7 separate regions of the Homo sapiens genome follow, and regions 2, 3, 4, 5, 6 and 7 are each linked to region 1. Evidence: promoter capture Hi-C in 16 types of primary human blood cells and fetal thymus (Javierre and others, 2016). All regions are on one chromosome and are shown on one strand. The core of a region is centred on a gene start or on the middle of the fragment in contact, and the rest is flanking DNA. Distances in the headings are between cores, read along the strand shown.

The links. Contacts are between HindIII fragments. The CHiCAGO score rates a contact against its expected background, and 5 or more counts as called.
Region 2: a fragment that was not itself captured here is called in contact with the fragment with the promoter of MAGEL2 in region 1 in 4 of 17 cell types (M2 macrophages, M0 macrophages, non-activated CD4 T cells and 1 more); the score reaches 7.8 in M2 macrophages.
Region 3: a contact is called between a fragment that was not itself captured here and the fragment with the promoter of MAGEL2 in region 1, in 2 of 17 cell types (M0 macrophages and M2 macrophages). The highest score is 7.5, in M0 macrophages.
Region 4: a fragment that was not itself captured here is called in contact with the fragment with the promoter of MAGEL2 in region 1 in 4 of 17 cell types (endothelial precursors, M0 macrophages, M1 macrophages and 1 more); the score reaches 9.2 in endothelial precursors.
Region 5: a contact is called between a fragment that was not itself captured here and the fragment with the promoter of MAGEL2 in region 1, in 6 of 17 cell types (endothelial precursors, M2 macrophages, M1 macrophages and 3 more). The highest score is 20.2, in endothelial precursors.
Region 6: a contact is called between a fragment that was not itself captured here and the fragment with the promoter of MAGEL2 in region 1, in 1 of 17 cell types (endothelial precursors). The highest score is 5.0, in endothelial precursors.
Region 7: a fragment that was not itself captured here is called in contact with the fragment with the promoter of MAGEL2 in region 1 in 7 of 17 cell types (endothelial precursors, M0 macrophages, M1 macrophages and 4 more); the score reaches 17.3 in endothelial precursors.

The regions. Positions count from the first base shown.
Region 1 is chr15:23,646,517-23,649,381 of GRCh38, reverse strand. It overlaps MAGEL2 (MAGE family member L2), which reads left to right and starts at 1,515. Exons shown (of 1, transcript NM_019066.5): 1 at 1,515-2,865. The coding sequence starts at 1,640. RefSeq lists an enhancer at 2,228-2,865. The HindIII fragment of the contact is 5,160 bases long and covers 375-2,865 here.
Region 2 is chr15:27,026,540-27,029,336 of GRCh38, reverse strand. GABRG3 (gamma-aminobutyric acid type A receptor subunit gamma3) reads right to left here. Exons shown (of 10, transcript NM_033223.5): 3 at 2,516-2,583. Among named protein-coding and RNA genes, the nearest start is that of GABRG3, 57 kb to the right of the region's middle. The HindIII fragment of the contact is 5,080 bases long and covers 1-2,797 here.
Region 3 is chr15:27,007,398-27,010,344 of GRCh38, reverse strand. All of the region lies in intron 2 of GABRG3 (gamma-aminobutyric acid type A receptor subunit gamma3), which reads right to left. Among named protein-coding and RNA genes, the nearest start is that of GABRG3, 38 kb to the right of the region's middle. The HindIII fragment of the contact is 6,028 bases long and covers 1-2,947 here.
Region 4 is chr15:26,813,924-26,816,638 of GRCh38, reverse strand. No RefSeq gene overlaps it. Among named protein-coding and RNA genes, the nearest start is that of GABRB3, 42 kb to the right of the region's middle. The HindIII fragment of the contact is 669 bases long and covers 1,041-1,709 here.
Region 5 is chr15:26,849,359-26,852,384 of GRCh38, reverse strand. It overlaps the pseudogene RPL9P26. Among named protein-coding and RNA genes, the nearest start is that of GABRA5, 16 kb to the left of the region's middle. The HindIII fragment of the contact is 3,890 bases long and covers 1-3,026 here.
Region 6 is chr15:28,116,010-28,118,985 of GRCh38, reverse strand. HERC2 (HECT and RLD domain containing E3 ubiquitin protein ligase 2) reads left to right here. Exons shown (of 93, transcript NM_004667.6): 87 at 1,832-1,973; 88 at 2,127-2,321. Among named protein-coding and RNA genes, the nearest start is that of OCA2, 18 kb to the right of the region's middle. The HindIII fragment of the contact is 5,691 bases long and covers 1-2,976 here.
Region 7 is chr15:26,876,948-26,879,651 of GRCh38, reverse strand. The region is part of intron 3 of GABRA5 (gamma-aminobutyric acid type A receptor subunit alpha5); the gene reads right to left. Among named protein-coding and RNA genes, the nearest start is that of GABRA5, 11 kb to the right of the region's middle. The HindIII fragment of the contact is 3,533 bases long and covers 1-2,704 here.

The sequences.
Region 1 (2,865 bases), core at 266-2,765:
GTAAGGTGGGGGGGGCTACTGTATCATCAAGCACCCTTAAAAATCTGACTGTTTTGAAAAGAGTTTCCTGGGAATAACAACATCCCTTAAGTGTCCAGAAAATCACTGAAACTTTACCCCCAAATTCTTCTATTATTGTTTAAGGCAATAATAACATTGGGAGTGTGTACATACCTTCTCTTGGGTCCATAAATTACCAAATTTGAGGACCCCTGGCTAAGGGTACCTGGGAAGGAGTGGGGTGTACCCTTCATCGTCCTCATCTGCCCCCTGGTGGCACGTTTTGTCACTCTGGACTCCTGCCGTAGGCTGCCAACAGCCTATTTAAACGAAACATCCTTGATATTTAGTGCTTTGTATATTTCCAGAAAGCTTTTCAATTACTGAGATTATCACTTCCTCTCACCATAAAGTTGTATAGCATTGCCCAATAATACTATTGTCATCTGCTTTATCTGTTAATACTTGATTTGTCTCATATTTAAACTGATTTTTGTCACGAGAAGTTTCCCCAGAAATTTTTTTATTCTTTGCCTGTTTTTCCTATATATCCAAATATATCAATTTTTGATCTATTTATATACCCATTTTGTTATCTTCAGGTGCGTTATTTGGTTTTCATTTTTTAAATTTCTTTCCCATTCTGCAGATGAAAAATACTGAGAAACCTACTCTGTTCCTGCATCCGAGCCATTCCACAGGCAGTTTTCCCATACTAAAAATGCTGTCTTCCACTGATGTGTGGCATGTCTCAGTTCCGTGACTTCTTTTCCTCTCTCTCTACTCGCTGCTGTCCCTTTTCTCCATGTGTCTCTAACATGCCTGTGTTCTTCAAGACCCAGTGCAACCACATTCCCTCCCACAACTCTATTTTCATGAGGAATAGCCAAGCAGGACTCCCAAGACATCATACAGGAGTGCCTACAGGGTATCTCTCCTTGGCAGTCCCACAGCACCGCAAATGCCCTGTGTCTGCCAATACTCATCAGCCTCTCTTCCCGTGTGCCTCTCCTGGGACCCTAAGAGAGTAACAGTCCCTGCAACTTCCCACTTTCTCCAGGCAGGGACTTGTGTGCCTTTTCCATGTCTTTGACTCCTTTATTCAATTATAATACAGGTATCTGTCTGCTATAACTCCTGGAACTCTCTTATGTAAATGCGCTTTTTTCATTCTCCGCCTCACATCTTAGCCCAGACCACACCATCTCCCCCCGCCGTCTTGGATACCTTCCATGTTTCCAGTGGTCTGCTCCCACTCCACACTGCAGTACAGTGATTTTTCTAAAACATGGATGGGTTCCTGTCACTCCCCTGTGAAAAGTCATCCATGTGGAGTCTGACTGGTCTGCATTTGGGGACTGGACAGAGTGAGAAGGGATCCTGTGTCAGCCAGGACTCCGGTAGACGCCCCTATGCAATATCCACTTGTGGTGGTCGGGGGCGGGGAAGGGGCGGGATTGAGCCCCCTTCCCCCCTCCTCCTTACTGCGGAAAGCTGCGGAGCGAGCAGCACTCACTTCCTATTCAGCATTCAGCAGGGAGGGAGCCTCTGAACAGCCACGTAGGCATTCTCTTCTCTCTGGAGGAAAAGGCCCAGCAGCTGTCCGAGGAAAAGACCCACCAGCTGTCAGCAAAGGGACATGTCGCAGCTAAGTAAGAATCTGGGTGACTCGAGTCCTCCGGCGGAGGCCCCGAAGCCGCCTGTCTATAGCCGCCCTACGGTTCTGATGCGGGCCCCGCCCGCTTCCTCCCGGGCTCCGCCAGTCCCTTGGGATCCACCTCCAATTGACTTGCAGGCTTCATTGGCCGCTTGGCAGGCACCTCAGCCTGCCTGGGAGGCCCCACAGGGCCAGCTGCCCGCCCCGGTGGTTCCGATGACCCAGCCTCCTGCCCTAGGGGGCCCGATAGTCCCGGCTCCCCCGCTGGGGGGCCCGATGGGTAAGCCTCCGACTCCCGGGGTCCTGATGGTGCATCCTCCACCTCCGGGAGCCCCGATGGCCCAGCCTCCGACCCCGGGAGTCCTGATGGTGCATCCTTCAGCTCCCGGAGCTCCCATGGCCCATCCTCCTCCTCCGGGGACCCCAATGTCCCACCCTCCCCCTCCGGGGACCCCAATGGCCCATCCTCCTCCTCCGGGGACCCCGATGGCCCATCCTCCTCCTCCGGGGACCCCGATGGTGCATCCTCCTCCTCCGGGGACCCCGATGGCTCATCCTCCCCCTCCGGGGACACCGATGGCTCATCCTCCCCCTCCGGGGACACCGATGGCTCATCCTCCACCTCCGGGGACACCGATGGCTCATCCTCCCCCTCCGGGTACACCGATGGCCCAGCCTCCAGCTCCGGGAGTCCTGATGGCCCAGCCTCTGACTCCGGGAGTCCTGATGGTCCAGCCTGCTGCTCCGGGAGCACCGATGGTCCAGCCGCCTCCAGCAGCCATGATGACCCAGCCTCAGCCTTCAGGAGCACCGATGGCCAAGCCTCCAGGTCCAGGAGTCCTGATGATTCATCCTCCAGGTGCGAGAGCTCCGATGACCCAGCCTCCAGCTTCAGGAGCACCGATGGCACAGCCGGCGGCCCCACCTGCACAGCCGATGGCCCCACCTGCACAGCCGATGGCTTCTTGGGCCCCGCAGGCTCAGCCTCTGATCCTGCAAATCCAGTCTCAAGTTATAAGGGCTCCTCCGCAGGTTCCCCAGGGCCCGCAGGCACCCCCAGCGCAGCTAGCCACACCCCCGGGCTGGCAGGCGACCTCGCCAGGATGGCAGGCCACGCAGCAAGGCTGGCAGGCCACTCCCCTGACTTGGCAGACCACGCAGGTCACCTGGCAGGCACCAGCCGTTACCTGGCAGGTGCCGCCGCCCAT
Region 2 (2,797 bases), core at 120-2,619, 3.4 Mb before region 1:
AGACAGTGCCATCCCTGCTGAGCGCTGACTGCGGCCTCGGCGCTGTTTGCAGAGGAAAGCACTTGCTAGCATTCGGCTTCCCCAGGGCTGCGTGCCAGCTGCTTCCAACTCACACAGCAGCAGGCAGCCACACAGGCTCCCCACCCCTTCAGTAGGGTAGAGAGCCATGCTAGAAAGAAAACCAACTGGACTAAGTGAAGTTTCAAAATATTCAGGGCAAGTTTTACAAATGAGAGAGTTAATAGAAAATAGCTTTCTACTCCACATCCTGCCACAGCTCAGCCTTGGAAACCTGCTGTGTCAGCCTCCAGATGAGCAGGATGCTGGTGCACACGTGTTCTTCTCCAGGGCCCAGGGCTTACAATGCCCCCGGCCATTCTAAGGTCGTTTCTCACCCCACAGGGAAGGATCAGAGTTCATGATTTCAAGTCCCTAATGTGAGCTCTGCATCATCATGTAGTTTTTGTTTTTTTTCAGGGAGAGAGGGGTCTGACTAGCGATCTTACTGGATTTTTTTTTTTTTTTTTTTTTGAGATGAAGTCTAGCTCTGTCACCCAGGCTGGAGTGCAGTGGCTCAATCTTGGCTCACTGCAACCTCCGCCTCCTGGATTCAAGCGATTCTTCTGCCTCAGCCTCTCGAGTAGCTGAGACTACAGGCGCCTGCCACCATGCCCAGCTGATTTTTTATATTTTTAGTAGAGTCAGGGTTTCATCACGTTGACCAGGCTGGTCTCGAACTCCTGACCTTGTGATCTGCCTGCCTCAGCCTCCCAAAGTGCTGGGATTACAGGCGTGAGCCACTGTGCCCGGCCTGGATTTGAACAAATCTCATGAAATATGACCTGCTCAGATCTCTGATGGGAAAAGGTTTTCACAGTTTCCAAACGCAGGGATCTGTTTTGGATGAAGAGAAGGCTGAGGTCCGACCCTTAACTGCAGCTTCAGGGCCTTGGTCACAGCTGCCCCCATGTGCCCCTCCAGGCATCTCTCCACACATCACTCCCTCGTCCCCAGCTGTGTGACGCACTCTGTCCTCCTGTGTTACTAAGGACCTTCAAACTTTATCCCACCTAGCACACTCTTGCCTATCCGTCAAGTTTCAGATGAAGAGGACCTCACTGGAGAAGTCCCTTCCACTCCTGCAGCAGGGCCGTATCACCGTGAAGGAGCCTGTCACTCACTCGGCCTCCTTCTCTGCAGCCCGTGATTTCCACATGAAAATTCCCGTCTATTCCAATAACAAAGCCTAACACGAGGCACAAAGTAAATTCTAAAGTTAAAGGCCTGCAGGAAAATCCCTCTATATGCAAATGCAATTGACTTCCTGAAATAATTCTGTAACCATATATCCAGGAAGGCACTTCTTCTTTGAGTGTTAGACATAAACACATGTTAGACGTAAAGGTGTTGAATAAACGGTTGTGGAACAAATGCAAGAAAATAAAACTCCAGAACAAGAAACATACATAAGAAAGGGTTACTCTGAGCAGTCAACTGAATAATGATGTATCAGGAAAAGGGAATATTACACTCACAACTTGATTTTAATATACAGCCATCTGCAGCACATAGGTTGTGTGAAATAATTCTCCTTTATTCATTCCACTTCTTTGCTCCAGTTTAGGGATGATATGGAGATTTTTTAAGTGAATCACCCACAAATATAACTTTACCCCTGCATGGAACCCTTATATCACCAGAGAAAAGAACACTTTTAAAATCTGGCAATGAAAAGAAACGATTTTGCTACTAATTTTGGAGGGGTTATTTCCATCCACAGAACACTGCAATGAAAAGAAGAAATTTAAGTCAGCATTTTGGCAATTCCCCTCCCTCGGCCTCACGTCTCCCCAAATCAGGAGCAAATGTGCAGCAGGGAGCACAGGCAGGACCTCCGCAGGCGGGGGGAGCTCCTGACAATGCTTGAGGCTGCAATAGACAGGCCTGCTTGGGGATCCTAGGTAGTCCTGTTAACCCCTTGCTGGCAGGTGGACTGTGGCCTTCAGCCCACCACAGAAGGCTCTCACCCTAACGTATTTCAATACCCCCACACTCACTTCATAGCCAGGCACTTTTGCACAGGGAAGGGCTTCTTTCACATCCAATAGTTCTTGAGCTGAATTTGCTTATAAGCCTGTGGGAATACCCTACTCGGGGAAAGCACATATTTGATCCCATACTAAAAAGCAGAGGCAGTTTATTTACTCTCAAAGTCCAAACTGAAGACAAAAGTATAATCTGAGTGATCTCGAATCCTTTCCTAAGAAACACTATAAAAGACAGGTCTCTTGGATGTTGAAAGAAGAAACTAAAAGTGGAAATGCTACTACCATCACAAGCTATCTTTCTTCATTTTTTTTTTTACCATTTTCAATATTCCAATAAGTGTTACAGATTTAAGAAGTCAGTGTGAGTTTTAAACCGGCATGATAAATCTCAAACAGAAATCCACAATGAGAATGTAACAAGAAGAGGTGCAACAGCCGTTAGATCAGAAAATAAAGGAGCTTCTTACCATGTTTATTGATGACACAGGACCAATGCTGTTAACATAAATGTCAACGTCAATTACGGTCGGTTTTACTGTGGAGAAAAATACATGTATGTTAATACTTCGTGCCGGAGAAAGACAGAGGAGAGCACATTCAAGTCCTAAAGTCTCATACATAGCATCACAAGGACATGGTGGAAACACACATGAGCAGGGCTTTCTTTGGGACTTCTCTTGTAATTATAATTCAAGCCCTGCCTGCCTTTCTTTTCAAAATTCTCGAAGGATGAGAGATTCTTACTTGTA
Region 3 (2,947 bases), core at 78-2,577, 3.4 Mb before region 1:
TTCTGTGGCCTGGGCGTTCCTTGATGAAGAATCTTTCTTTCAGGTGAAAGCACAAACAGAGAGAGGACAAAATTCCTAGGAAGGTGCCTATGGAGGAGGGGTGGCACACAGCTCTGGATATCCAACAAATTACCCTAGATCCCAAGCTATCAACCTAGGTATGTGACATATCAGCCTTGTGTGCAACACCTTAGCTTAGGTATGCAACACCGGCTCTACAAAAACTACAAAAATTAGCTGGGCTTGGTAGTATGTGCCTGTAGCTCCAGCTACTTGGGAGGCTGAGGTGGAAGGATCACTTGAGCCCTGGAGGCAGAGGTTGCAGTAAGCCATGATCATACCACTGCACTCCAGCCTGGATGAAGGAGTGAGAGCCTGTCAAAAAAAAGAAGAAGAAAGAAGAATGAAGAAAGAAGAAGAAGCAGCAGAAGCAGAAGGAGGAAGAGGTGGTGGAGGAGGAGGAGCAGGAGGAGGAGGAGGAAAGGAAGAGGAAGAGGAAGAAGAAGTTGCCTGAGGAATCTAGGACTCCCACTTTAAGCATGCTTTACATCTTAGGAGAGATGGTCAGTTCTGTGCTGGGGCATATGTGTGATCACCATAGGATGGCCAGACCTTCCTGGCTGCCCTTTTGAATCTGGCTCCAAATTTGGATTGATGATACTGTTTGGGCCTCAAAAGGCTTTCATTGCCTTGAGGATGAGAACTGTCCTAATGTAGGCATTGTTAGCTTTCCCTGAGCATTTAGAACATGAGTATGGTCTTAGCAGTAGGCTCACTAAGTAAAGTCCTAGGCAAACAAATACATATTAGAAGCTGAAAAATACTGGAAACCTTTCTCAGCCTTTCCCAAATTTCTTCCTTACCTGGCTAGAACTTTTGCTTGTTTGTTTATCTAAATATGTAAATATGTAGGATGTATATATTGGATCCTAACGGTTTTTTCAATCGTCATGTGTCCTCTGACAAAAATGCAAATATCTTGGTAGGACTAGTACTTTCCAGTCTATATAACCAGCTCAGTAAGGGGACATCAGAACAAAACTGAGAAGAAAAGCAAAAAGATTCCCAAGACCAACCCACCCTATTACAACACTGACGGCTTGTTCTACACGGTTTGCTATCAGTATTCGAGCTCTCTCAACTTGGAATTCTTTATGTCAACCTAGAGGAGCCCGCAGCAGTCCAGTGTGCACCTGTGGAGTATGTGTCGATGCTCAGGGCAGCTGAAGAGTGAGCTGGGGACGCAGTGTCTTCCAGACGGCACCGTGAGCAGAGTCTGAGCTCAGCCTAGGACTGTCAGAGCCTACCGTCCTGTCCCCTGCACTTTCTTCCCTCTCCTTGCTCTACATCCTCGCCCCGTCCCACCCCTACCTCTCTTCTCTGGAAACATTCCTCATCCATGGGGGCTGCAGCTGAACTGAGAATGGGAACAGATGCTGGATTTTCTTCTGACTCAGCCCCTAGCGAGGTGCCATTGAAAAGGCCAACTGACACCCATCATCGCCTCAGCTGAGCTTTACCCCAGAGCAGCACTGCAGAGATGTCCGCTCACGGCGACCCTGAAAGTGAGCAGTGGCTGCTCTGCGGGTGCCATTTACCGGATTAATATTCTCTCCTTCCCTTTCCTTCCAACTTAAAAAAATGAGGTGTGTGCCCTTTTGCAGGGGGATGGTAGGGAGTGGTGGGGGGAGAATGTTATAAAAAAAAAAGCTGCCAGCACCTGATATTTAGACAAGCAATATGGGAATTTAAGAAAACAGCCAGATTAATTAGTTTTATTTATGGAGGCCACACAGGCCTGCCAACTTCTAGCACAGCAGAGTACCCCAGATTCAATTCTCGACTGAATCTCTGAGTGATTGTCAGCCAAAAGATTCCTATCCCATCTATATTTGGAAGAACTGTTCATCTATTTTTGGAGTGAAAATTAAGGGCATGTGCACATTTTTTGAGTGACAAGAAAAAGTCACCTGAACCTGCAATACAAATATTCAGAATATGAGACTATTGAGAGTGAGTTACTCTTTTTAGCCACGTGGGCTCATGTTTAACCTTCCAGATTAACAGTATAAACTAATGCCAAATACTTAGTGATTACGTTCTAATGCATTTGAGTAGGTTAATACATACTTACATATTTTCAACACTGATTCTGGATGTGAATTTTTCTGTTGTTATTTTAATGCACATAAAATATAATTATTTAGCTAAATTAATTTTAAAAGGCCCATATGCTGGGAACACTTAAGGCTAATTTCAATTCAATACCAGTTACCTGTCATATGTAACACTAGCTGTAGTATGTTTAGTAAGAGTTTGTATTATGCTCCAGAAAGAGAAGATGGACAGTAGATAACATATACTGAACAAAGATTTCATGATGAATACATCAAAAGCAATTGCAAAAAAAGCAAAAATTGACAAAAGGGACCTAATTAAACTAAAGAGCTTCTGCAGAGTAAAAGAAACTATCAACAGAGTAAACAACCTACAGAATGGATGAAAATATTTGCAAACTATGCATCCAATAAAAGTCCAATATCCAGAATCTATAAGGAAATTAAACAAACCAGCAAGCAAAAAACAAAAAACCCCATCAATAATGGGTAAAGGACATGAAACAAACACTTCTCAAAAGAAGACATATATGCAGTATATGAAAAAATGCTCAACATCACTGGTCATTAGAGAAATGCAAATCAAAACCACAATGAGATACCATCTCACACCAGTCAGAATGGCTATTATTAGGAAGCCAAAAAATAACAGATGCTGGTGAGGTTGTAGAGAAAAAGGAACGCTTATCCACTGCTGATGGGAATGTAAATTAGTTCAGCCACTGTGGAAAGTAGTATGGTGATTTCTCAAAGAACTTAAAACAGAGCAAACATTTGCCCCAACAATCCTATTATTGGGTATATAACCAAAGGAATACAAATCATTCTAC
Region 4 (2,715 bases), core at 126-2,625, 3.2 Mb before region 1:
ATTGGAGCAGAAACCAGGGCCTAAGCTTATCTAATACGATGTGTATTACTTTTTAAAAATGTGTGTACATTTCTTTAAATATTATTTCTTGATTTTCACAAAATGCTAGTCAAGATATCTTAAATAGACAGAGTTTGGGAACATGCTTATTAAAGGACTTTTAGACCTTAGCAATAATCATGAAGATTACCTTTTATCCTTCTTTGTGTTTTTTTTTTTTTCAGGAACGCAGTCAAAGAACACAGAACATTTTATGCCATTTATGAAACCAGGTACGTCCATGATGCCTGCATTTTATCAATGAAAGGTTTTCACTTCTTACTAATGCTATGAGTATTAGTAGTGATTGTAATATAAGTCTATAACTTATTTTATGTATTTTGTTGTTGAAATGCTTGTCTAAATTATGTTAAGGAATACATAGAGAGAGACTAAAAGAATATAATGATGAAATAGTATCACCTTAACTTGTGTAATTTTGCTATAATTTTAAATGAAAGTTTTGTTGAATTCTATCAGGGCATCTGATTCTAGGACTAAGTGTATGCAAGTTTGAAATCAAGTGATTTAGCATGGGAAGGAGCTTCAGACGTCCTCATCTGCCATGTTTCGAAAGGTAGCCCACGAAGTTTAGGCTTGTCCAAGATCACACAGCTACTCAGAAGAGGAGTTAAAAAAAGAAAACATGTTCCTTACCTTTATCACCATGCTCTCACATTGCTCCACAATGACTGGCAAAAAAAAAAAAAAATGCCCATGTAATTATTTTGTGCATATAAAATCATATTCTCCAACTGATATTCTCTTAGAAAGAAACAAACTGACAACAAAATCTTGCAGTAACTGTTTAGAAGTCATATATTTAAAGAAAACTAATCATGTAATACTTTCCTTTAATCTTTAAAGATTCAGCTACACTACAATTTCACAGTTAAGACTTCTCTAGATACCAACCACTCCCAACCTCCAAACCAAATCAGCTAACATTCCAGCCAAAGTTCATTCTTCTCTGGGCCCATTATTTTTTAATGTTCAAAGCTTTTCTATGTAAAAATATAACCGCTCCTTCCTTCCTATTTTCTTTCCTTCCTTCCTTCCTTTCATATACCCAGTCTCAGTACTGTAATATAAACTATAGTAGTTGTTAAATATTATTGGTAGAATTCATAATTTATTATTAAACATAATTCTAGTTTATCATTTTTGCATATATATAATTTTATTTACTCATCCACATGTGAGCATCAAGAAATGCTCCAATGGATATCTGAAAATCAAATATATTCCTGTCTGTAACCTTCCTCCTCATAATGACGTGGGTCAACTCCCCTGACCATATGGCAACTCCAGTTTTAGCCATCAAGTTTACTGGCATGAGAAACCCAAAGTGACCAAGCAACAATAGCTTCATTGTTATTGAGGTTATTAACGTGCCCACTTGTGGGAGTGTCCCTTTTCTGAGAACCAGGACAAGTATACCCAAAATATTGATGTTTTTTATTATTCACTATTAACATTAGGGTTCACACTTTGTGTTGTAAATTCTACAGCATTTGAAAAATGTGCAATGACATATCTGTACTTGAGAACAAGTATAGTATAATAGTAACATATTCTGTGTGTATTATAGTATCATACAGAGTAGTTTCACTGCCCTAAACACCTCCTGTTCTTAATCTATTCAACCCTCCTTCCCTCCCCCTGAAGCTTTAAGAACCATTAATCTCTTCTTCCTGTCTCCATCATTTTGCCTTTCCAGAATGTCATATAGTTGAAACCCTACAGCACGTACCCTGCCAAGACTGGGTTCTTGTGCTGAGCAGTATGCATTTAAGAACATTCCATGAATTTCTGTGACTTTATAGCTTATCCCTTTTTATCTCTGAGTAATCTTTAATAATATGAATGTGCCACAGTTTGTTTAGACCCTCAATTATTGAAGGATATCTTGGCTGCTTTCAAGTTTTGACAATTATGGATAAAGCTACTATAAACTTTCGTGTGCAGATTTTTGTGTGGACATACATTTTCAACTCAAATTAATAAATACCAAGAAGCATGATTGTGGATTAAATGGTTTATTAGTCTGTTTTCATGCTGCTAATAAAGACATGCCTGAGACCAGGTCATTTATAAAGGAAAGAGATTTCATTGACTCAGTTCCACATGGCTAGGTAGGGCTCATAATCAAGGCAAAAGGCGAATAAGGAGCAAAGTCATGTCTTACATGGCAACAGGCAAGACAGCTTGTGCAGGGAAACTCCCATTTATAAAATCATCAGATCTCATGAGACTTACTCACCACAAGAATAGTATGGGGGAAACCACCCCCATGATTCAATTATCTCCACTTGGCACAACCCATGGTACATGGGGATTATTACAATTCAAGATGAGATTTGGGTGGGGACACAGCAAAACCATATCAAATGGTAAGAGTATCTTTAGTTTTATAAGAAACTGCCAAACTGTCTTTCAAAGTGGCTGGACTACTTTGCCTCCCAGCCAGCAATGAATGAGAGTTTCTGTTGCTCTATGGCTCAGTCAGCATTTGGTATTGTCAGTGTTTTCAATGTAGCCAATCTAATAGGTGTGTAGGGGCATAGCATTTATGTTTTATTTGTAATTCCCTGAGGACATGTGATGTTGAGCATCTTTTCATATGCTTATTTGCCATCCATGTTTCTTCTTTGGTGAGGTGTCTATTCAGGTCTT
Region 5 (3,026 bases), core at 136-2,635, 3.2 Mb before region 1:
GCTATTTCTATGAGGATAACCATGGTAATTTGGTACTAGGGTCAAACACGTGCTGTCTTGCACACATGGCCCGGCCACAACTGCTATCAGCTCACGGCCAGTCCTGTGACATCTCTACCCTCACTCGCTCATACCCTCAGAATTACTTTTAAGCAAACTTAAGATATCATATCTTTTTATCCATAAATAATTCATTTTGTTTTCAATACACATATTCTTAAATTTAAAAAAAGCAAATTGCATAACAATGCTTATACTATGAAGCTATTTTTAAAGGTTTAGGTGTTTATAGCCTAATTTGGGTGCATGTACAGAAAGCCTTGGAAACTTGCACATCAAGTCAGCATATAAATGTGTTTTGCTTCTCTACAAGGAATTGGAAGATTATTTTCTTTCAGGATATAGTGTTTCACACCCTGTTTGCTTCCCCTAGACACAAATGTTGGACCTTATGATACCCATTTCAGCCTGTATTTAAAAATAGGACTTCAAATACATCTAGAGTTGACCACATACTTGCCAAGAAGGAGGGGAAATATCCATGTCTGGTAGCTTAAACACACACACACACACACACACACACTAGGAATAGTTTATTGTAGATAAATAAAATAGGTAAGAGGGTAAAAGTGCTGGGAAAGGCAGAGACAACAGGTCCAATGTAAAAGTTTAGCATACCTTCACCACACACCATCGGTAAGGCTCTGAACAAGTAACAGAGGAGAGTGTGGGAATATCAGCACGTGGTCCATTCTTGCAGCATCTATAGTGAGAATGATCATCATTCTCAACAACCAGACAGTTGACCTCTCATAAAATGTCAACATCACTTAGAAGGGACATCCACATTTTATGAAGGACCCCAGAAGAGTCCTGCAGAGGAACCTCAATCACATCAATGTGAAACTCAGCTTCCTTGGAAAGAAAAACAAGCAGCCCTGGGTTGATGAATGGTAGGAAAAAGAAAGAAATCAGCTATTTTTGCACTCTATATTGTCATTGACCAAACATGATCAAGGATCTCCACTACAAAATGAAGTTGCCTGCATTCACCTTCCCAACAAAGTTATCATTCAGGAGACCAGGTGTCCTGCTGACATTCACAACTTTTTGGATAAAAAATATATCTGCAGAGTTTGGATGAGGTCGGGTGTTGCTTGATATTTTAAGCCCAGGAAAACAAGTTAATTCCTAAGTGAAATGGCATGGAACTTGTATCAAGTTCAGCTGCATTGATTCAGCAAGCCATGACAGGTTAAAAAAATCAAAAGAAGAGGCTGGGTGCGGTGGCTCATGCCTGTAATCTCAGCACTTTGGGAGGCCAAGGTGGGTGGATCACCTGAGGTCAGGAGTTCAAGACGACCAGCCTGGCCAACATGGCGAAACCTCGTCTCAACTAAAAAAAAAAAAAAAAAAAAAAAAAAATTAAAAAAATTTAAAAATTAGATGAGCATGTTGGCAGGCACCTGTAATTCCAGTTACCTGGGAGGCTGAGGCAGGAGAATCGTTTGAACCTGGGAGGTGGAGGTTGTAGTGAGCCATGACCGAACCACGGCACTCCAGCCTGAGCAACAGAGTGAGACTCTGTCTCAAATAAAATAAAATAAAATAAAATAAAAAGAATACCAGAAGATTTGGAATGGTATCTATTTCTGTGAGAAAGAAAGCTGACGAATAAGATACAGAAGTTCTTCATTGAAACAAGATGCTGAATGATACCTAAGACCAATTTGTCATATATTTTTAAGAACAATAAAACTATTTTACTGATCAATGGAAGACCCAATACATATTTGTACAGAACCAACAGTATGTTGAGTTGGGAGAGGTAAAAATAGACCACAGTACACTGATCTGAATTGAGAATGTGATACAAAAGAGGTGGCAAGCACCCGGGAAACGCAGTCTCACACTAAACTTCCATTTGAGTTAAATCGTTCACATTCACAGGCTATAGCAGTACTTGCTAAATGTGGTTAAAATCCCCACTTTGACAAAATAGCAGAGACATCTCCAGATTGGCATATGCCTGCAGAACAGTTTGCCTTCCTCAAGGAAAGGTGCTGCCTACTATGATGTTGTTAGCTTTGTTAGCTTTTGGTTTTGTTTTGATTGGATGTTTTCCAGCCTTCAGAATTTTGAATTACTGTCATCTTTTGAAATAATGCCATACTAATTCAAATGCCAGCATAAATTAAAATACTTCTTAAGTGCTTAGAAGAAATTAACATCAACGAGCCACATAGTTTTAAAAGAAACATAATGATTTCTCCTAACGTAAGCAAAGAAGCCTTCCAATACACACTCAACAGATGAAGCTGCTGCTGAGTGACTGGAAACTGAGATTCCTGGGACTCTGTTCTACCAAAAACAGTATTGGCAGTCAGGAGAAACAGTTCTGAATACAGATTTTGGGGTCCGACGGATCTGGGTCCAAGTACTGACATTGGACCCAAATTACTATTTGGGTGACCTTCGTGCAAGGGATTTGGGCCCTTTGGTCTTCCATCTCTAAATAGGATGATGACCTTTGCCTCCTAGGAGGGAGATGAGGAGAAATTGAGATAATGTATGTGAAGGTGGTGTGCCCACCTAGCCCAAGTGCCCAGTAACTATCAGCTCTCAGACCACTCTTTTGCTCGCTTGACACTCCGTGTTCATCCAAGTAAGGGGGCTACACTTTAACACAGAAGGTAAAGTTCGGGCATAAAATGAAAACAAACAACACTCTTCTTCCCCGAAAAGTATGAATTATTGTTATAAAGTATCATTTTTAATGTCCCCTTAAAACATTCTCCCATGTCCCATGTGTCCACATCCACAGAAGTTTTATCCAGTTCTTCATCACATCTCTAAGGCATCTCCAATTAGTGGAAATCCTAGAAAGATCATCACTTGGACCCAGGTGTATTCACTTGCTAGCCCTGCCCTGTTGTTCAAGTCATTTCAACTCCCTGAGTCCCAGCCTTGCTCTTTGTAAAATGGACAACAATGTTTACTTTATGGAGCTTATGTTCCAGTGGAGA
Region 6 (2,976 bases), core at 428-2,927, 4.5 Mb before region 1:
TCAGGCCTTCTTAAGAATCAGATAAACACCCTTCAGCCTAGTGTGCAATGTGGATTGACGTCTGGGGGCTGCTCTGGCTCAGCCACGGCCCCGGGTGCCAGAGGTGGCTCCTTCCCGTTCAGGGTAGCATGCCCCTCCCAAAGCGAGGAAATTTTCTACAGATGTAGAAATAGAAGTGATTTTCTGCCTAAAAATGAACATGGAGAAAAACATTGTTTGAATTCAGGGTGTGCACAGGACACCAGCACGGAGCCAGGAAGGCTGCACAGGCGCCTCCAACCCGCCACCCCATGGCTGCGATGATGGGCTCAGGGACACGCCTCCCAAGAGGATGCCATGGGAGGGACTCTCACAGCTGTCTGGATAGTTTCAGAGACTCCAGAACACAGGTCATCTTACTGGAAGGTTTTGTTTGTTGGGAATTTTATTTAGTTTTATAGCAGGATCTGAACATCACTACATAAAAACTTTTTTATACTTAAAAATTTATTACAGAGTTATTGCATGCACATTTCTGAAAATTTAGGGAATTCAGATTAAAGACAGTTAAAATCATCTGTGTTTCTATTGAGCAGAGAAAGTGCTGTCCCGCAGGAGCCTGTCTGCCTCCAGCCTTATGGCTGCTGTTTTCTGCAGCCTCTGAGTGCAGACAGCCTCTACTAGTGGGTGTCGTCATGGAGGAGAGGCAGCCCCGTGGGCTTCGGGGAGCTGGGTGCACCTCTCCTCTCACACAGCCGCCGTGACATAGGGCATGTCCTGTTCTTTTCTTGTAGCCTAGTCTCCTCTGGGCATGATGGAGCCTTAACAAGCTGCCGCGAGTTTCCAGGAACTCACGTCTGTGAACACTAGCCGTGTGTGTGGCACGCAGACAAGTTCATTCTACAGGCAACTGTGGCTCCTGTCATTCTTCTTGTATTTTTAGTCTTGGTTATGGCAGCCTGCTCTGTAAGCTGTTTAAACTCAACTTTAAGTGAGCTAAAGGTGAAGAGAGCTTCACTGGAGGAGTCATCAAAATACATTCTCAGGACCATTTTTTCTTCAATTTTTCTTTTTGACATCCTTCCAGACTGGGCTTCCCAGATGATTCTGATGCACAGCCTCGGCCACCTGCCCTCCGATGTGCCGAGGTCCTGCTGCGGCGGGGCCCTAGGGCTCCTGCCCTGGTGTCTTTGGGAATTGGAGGCCCCTGAGCCTTTAGCAATTGTAGCTTAGGATGAGAAGGATGGGCAGGGAGTGACTGCCTGTGTTGGGGAGGCTGAGTGGCCCCAAGGCTTGGAAATGGGATGGGTGGAAGCAGATGTGGGGAAGGGCTGGTCCTGGCTGAGGCACTCACTCACTGTGTCTGCTTCAGTCTCAGGGGCATTGGGTTGAATCTTTGAGTGCCGGGAGTCTGTTCTGGTCTGCTGGGGGAGCTGCTTTTGGAGTTCCTGGTGTCTTATTTCATGAGGTCGTGGCAAGATGGTGAAGTAGCAGCAGTGCTTAGGGTGTGAGGATGGTCCGTGCCAGGGTGGTGCTGCCGGGCCGCAGCTGTGGACGTGGTGGTGGTGTGTGTCGTGTTGGAAGGTGTGTTTGTTCAGACACACTAGTCCTGGGGGCTGCTGGGCACATCACTGGCGACATGCCCAATGGGGTGAGGCAGCGGTCTCGGGTGTCCACAGTCGAGCGCCCCAGACGGCAGGGTCTGCCTGGCGTCCACACAAGCAGGTGTGTGACCAGGGAGGGGCCCATGCACGGTGCCTCCTCCTCGTGCATTCGCCAGTGCCGCATATCCCCGACTGTGTGCTTCCTGCTGCGGCAGCGGCCTCACGCTTGCTTGCTTCCTCCTCTCCAGGTCAAACGATCAAGGAGCAAAGGCGGGCTGGCCGGCCCCGACGGCACCAAGTCTGTCTTTGGGCAGATGTGTGCTAAGATGAGCTCGTTTGGTCCCGACAGCCTCCTCCTTCCTCACCGTGTCTGGAAAGTCAAGTTTGTGGGTGAGAACTTGCCACGTGCTGGAGCACCTGTGTCCCCGGCAGTGGTCGCCTGAGCCCACAGGGAGCACAGAGGCCACATGGTGTGGGAGCGTTGGGGCTCTCTTTACACAGGACTGTGTGAGGGGACTTCGAGTGGCTGCTTCTCCCCTGCAGGTGAATCTGTGGATGACTGTGGGGGCGGCTACAGCGAGTCCATAGCTGAGATCTGTGAGGAGCTGCAGAACGGACTCACGCCCCTGCTGATCGTGACACCCAACGGGAGGGATGAGTCTGGGGCCAACCGAGACTGCTACCTGCTCAGCCCGGCCGCCAGAGCACCCGTGCACAGCAGCATGTTCCGCTTCCTGGGTGAGCTTCTCGGCCGCTTGAGACTGTGTCGCTGTGGCCTGTGCCTGCTCTTGAGTTAAAATGTACTATCTGTTTGAGGAGTGACAGTAGATATCTTGAATATCTGCTTTTAGTTTTTGAGACTGTTACCAATAAAAATGACTTTTAGGGTGAGGCGCGGTGGCTCACGCCTATAACCCTAGCACTTTGGGAGGCTGAGGCAGGCAGATTGCCTGAGGTCAGGAGTTCGAGACCAGCCTGACTAATGTGGTGAAACCTCGTCTCTAGTAAAAATACAAAAAAAATTAGCTGGCTGTGGTGGCATGCACCTGTAGTCCCAGCTACTCAGGAGGGTGAGGCAGGAGAATTGCTTGAACCCGGGAGGCGGAGGTTGCAGTGAGCTGAGATCGTACCATTGCACTCCAGCCTGGGCAACACTCTGTATCAAAAAAAAAAAAAAAAAGAAAAAGAAAAGACTTTTAATATTGATCGTGCCTTTCACCAACATTGTGGAAGCGAACGAGGTGCTGTTGACTTCCGTGCCTAGCATTGAGGGCCTGACGGTGGTGGACCGTCGGAAGCTCTGTGCACAGCTGCAGGCACTGGCAGAGCCAGCCCCGGCCACGTGCTGAGGACTGGAGACTGCCTCGGGTACTCAGAAGATGGGAGATTCTGT
Region 7 (2,704 bases), core at 39-2,538, 3.2 Mb before region 1:
AGATCAATTCTTTGCTGGCCCTAAAGCTATTCCCTTTTGAATAGAATGAGAGAATAAAGAATAAAGGAATAATGCTCTTTTGATCTAAGTTTCACATCACCATAAAAATGCATATACTTGAAGCTCTAACAAGCTAAAATTCACTCCTGTTAGTACGGAGCCCACAGATGTATACTTTTTTAACTCTGTGATTTCATATTTAAAAACATTAAATTCCCCTTTCTCCAACATCCATGGTAGTTGCACACTTCGGAAAGACATAGCACTAAGCCTAGCATAGCTCCTCCCAGTGAACAGCCTTCTTCTTCAGAGTTTTGCAGGGGGAAAAAAGAAGGTTATATTTTGTACCTGCCCAGTTGTGTAACTATTGGTCAAACCAGATCTGGCTTCATGATGCACTTCTCATGGACTTCATAATTGTCACCGAGTTTGCAACTCAATTTTAGACCACGTCCAGGTGCTCAGTTTTTGGAAGGTCTTTGCTGTCTCTTTATCTTACCAATTGAGGTACTAGTAGAAAAAGCAGATCTTAATGGTGAAATTAAAGTTTTCTAAGCTACTCCATTCTCTGTTGTGAAAATGTTCCTAAATTGTGTTAGATGGTAACAGCCCTGGCTGTCCAGAGACAAGGGCTTGACTTCATGATTGACCATTTGGAGGCTGTGCAGCCACAGTGATGTCTCTGTGAGCGTTGTTTTCCGTGGCTCTCTCCAGAAGCGGAGATAAAGACACTCCTGCTCTGCCAGTTTTAGGGAAACACCATCCCACTGGGCTCTGAATCCCACTCACAAATACCCTAATCATTTCCCACAGTGACGGAATAGAATGCTATGCTTAAGAATTTCAAAGCTCGGATTCTACTTCTTGATCAAAATTATTTTCATTAGTTTCAGTATATCTACACACATTTGCACATAATTACACTTTTCTTGGAGGAATGTCAGTGTCTGCCCTTTCCTGCCATACTGCCTTTTGCCTTTATCTGTAGACCTTTCTTTGTACGATGGGGCCATGGCTGGGGATTTGCAGTGTTGTCCTTGCTGTATTAACTGAAGATAGCCTCTAGGAGGGAAGAAACAGATTCTTAAAAAGCTCTGATGATGCCTATCGGGGTAGGAGCAGAGGGGTTTTTTTTTGTTTGTTTGTTTTGTTTTTTCATGAGCTGGAGGCCCTCCTCTGTCCATAGGCCATCCTCAAAAATGCTTCATCTGCAGTGCGTGGTTATGAAATACACCGCTTTCACAGCCATGGAGAGAAAGGCTCGTGCTGTATCATAGAAGGCAAATGCTGTGTTTTCTCAGCCCCTGGTGTGTAAGTGCCTTCATACAGGAGACCTTCACACATGCCTGGGGAACTGGCTAGCGCCTCTATCAAGCTGTATGATCTTTAAGAACTGCTGCTAAGCTAAGGAGGAACTTCAGCTTGCTTTGTTCCATTTTGGCTCATTGAAAGCACTTGAAAAACAAAATAACACAGAAATCCAGGGCTATGCCTTTGGTGAGCACTAATGTGCAGCGTGTGACGGATGAGTCCTACAGGTGGAAACCAAGATGTCCTCAGCCCATAAAGCGCTCACTCCGTTTAGGGTCAGCAGGCAGCCTACACTCGCCGACGCGCCACTTCTGCTTTTCTCAACTGCACTGAGTACAGCCCAGGAGCTCTGCTCATCCTGAGGTCGACCAGAGTCCACGAGTGCTTCAAGGACAAATAAAGGCTCCATTCTTTGGGGAAGTAAATTTTTGTGAGCTGAGATTATATCCCTATTACTAACAACAGTCTTAGACATAACAGAAATATTTGAAAATTTGGTGACTTACCCTTCAATTTTAGTCTGGGTTAATTCACTAGGTTCTCTTAAAATAGGAATTATTTCCTTATATTGAATGCATATTCTCTACAAAACATGTCCCACTTATGCCATATTCTCAGTTCCAACATTTTCCTTATTTGGTACTTGAAAGAGTACAAGTTGTGGCGTCATTTCTGGAGAAGAAAAAATCTTTTCGGTATTGTCATTCCACCACGGGTGCTAGTGAAGGCAGTGTGTGACGTGCTTCTCTTATATGGATGACCACTTCTGACTTACATACAGTGAGTTCGATAATGGCAACTGCAGACGTATTTTGACTGGAAATTACTTTGGACCTTGAACTGGGCTTGTTTTAAGCTGCAGCTTATCTGTCTTCTTAAACTTTGTTCTTCCCCAGTATTTAATGACTTCTGAAAAATGTCTCTTCTGTTTATTTGTCTGTTACTTTCAGGTCATTAAATGAGTACCTCTAAATGGCACCATTGTGTGATGTTTTCCTCAAATGCCCATTACCGATCACTTAAGCACCATATTAGAAAAACAACAACAATGTAACAGAAAAACAAAACCAAGATGGACACTGGCTGGACAGTGAGGGTCAATCCCAGGGTTCCAAATAACAGCTTTCCCCTCTTAAGGTGGAAAACATGGACAGGCACCACATTGTTTTATGAGGCTCTGAGTCTGTGCCATGGAACATCATGCTAGAACTCTCCGATATTCCTGCCAAATCCTAAAATCCCCCAGTTCTCCCTGCAGCTCCTGAAATCCTACTGAAGTGTATTCCTCAATCTTCATGGAGGTTCTCCATTCTTGCCCTTGGCACTGCTGCCCAACTCAGAATCCTGCTGCCCACAAGGTAAAACCCAAGCCCTATGGCCCCACAGGCCAGAG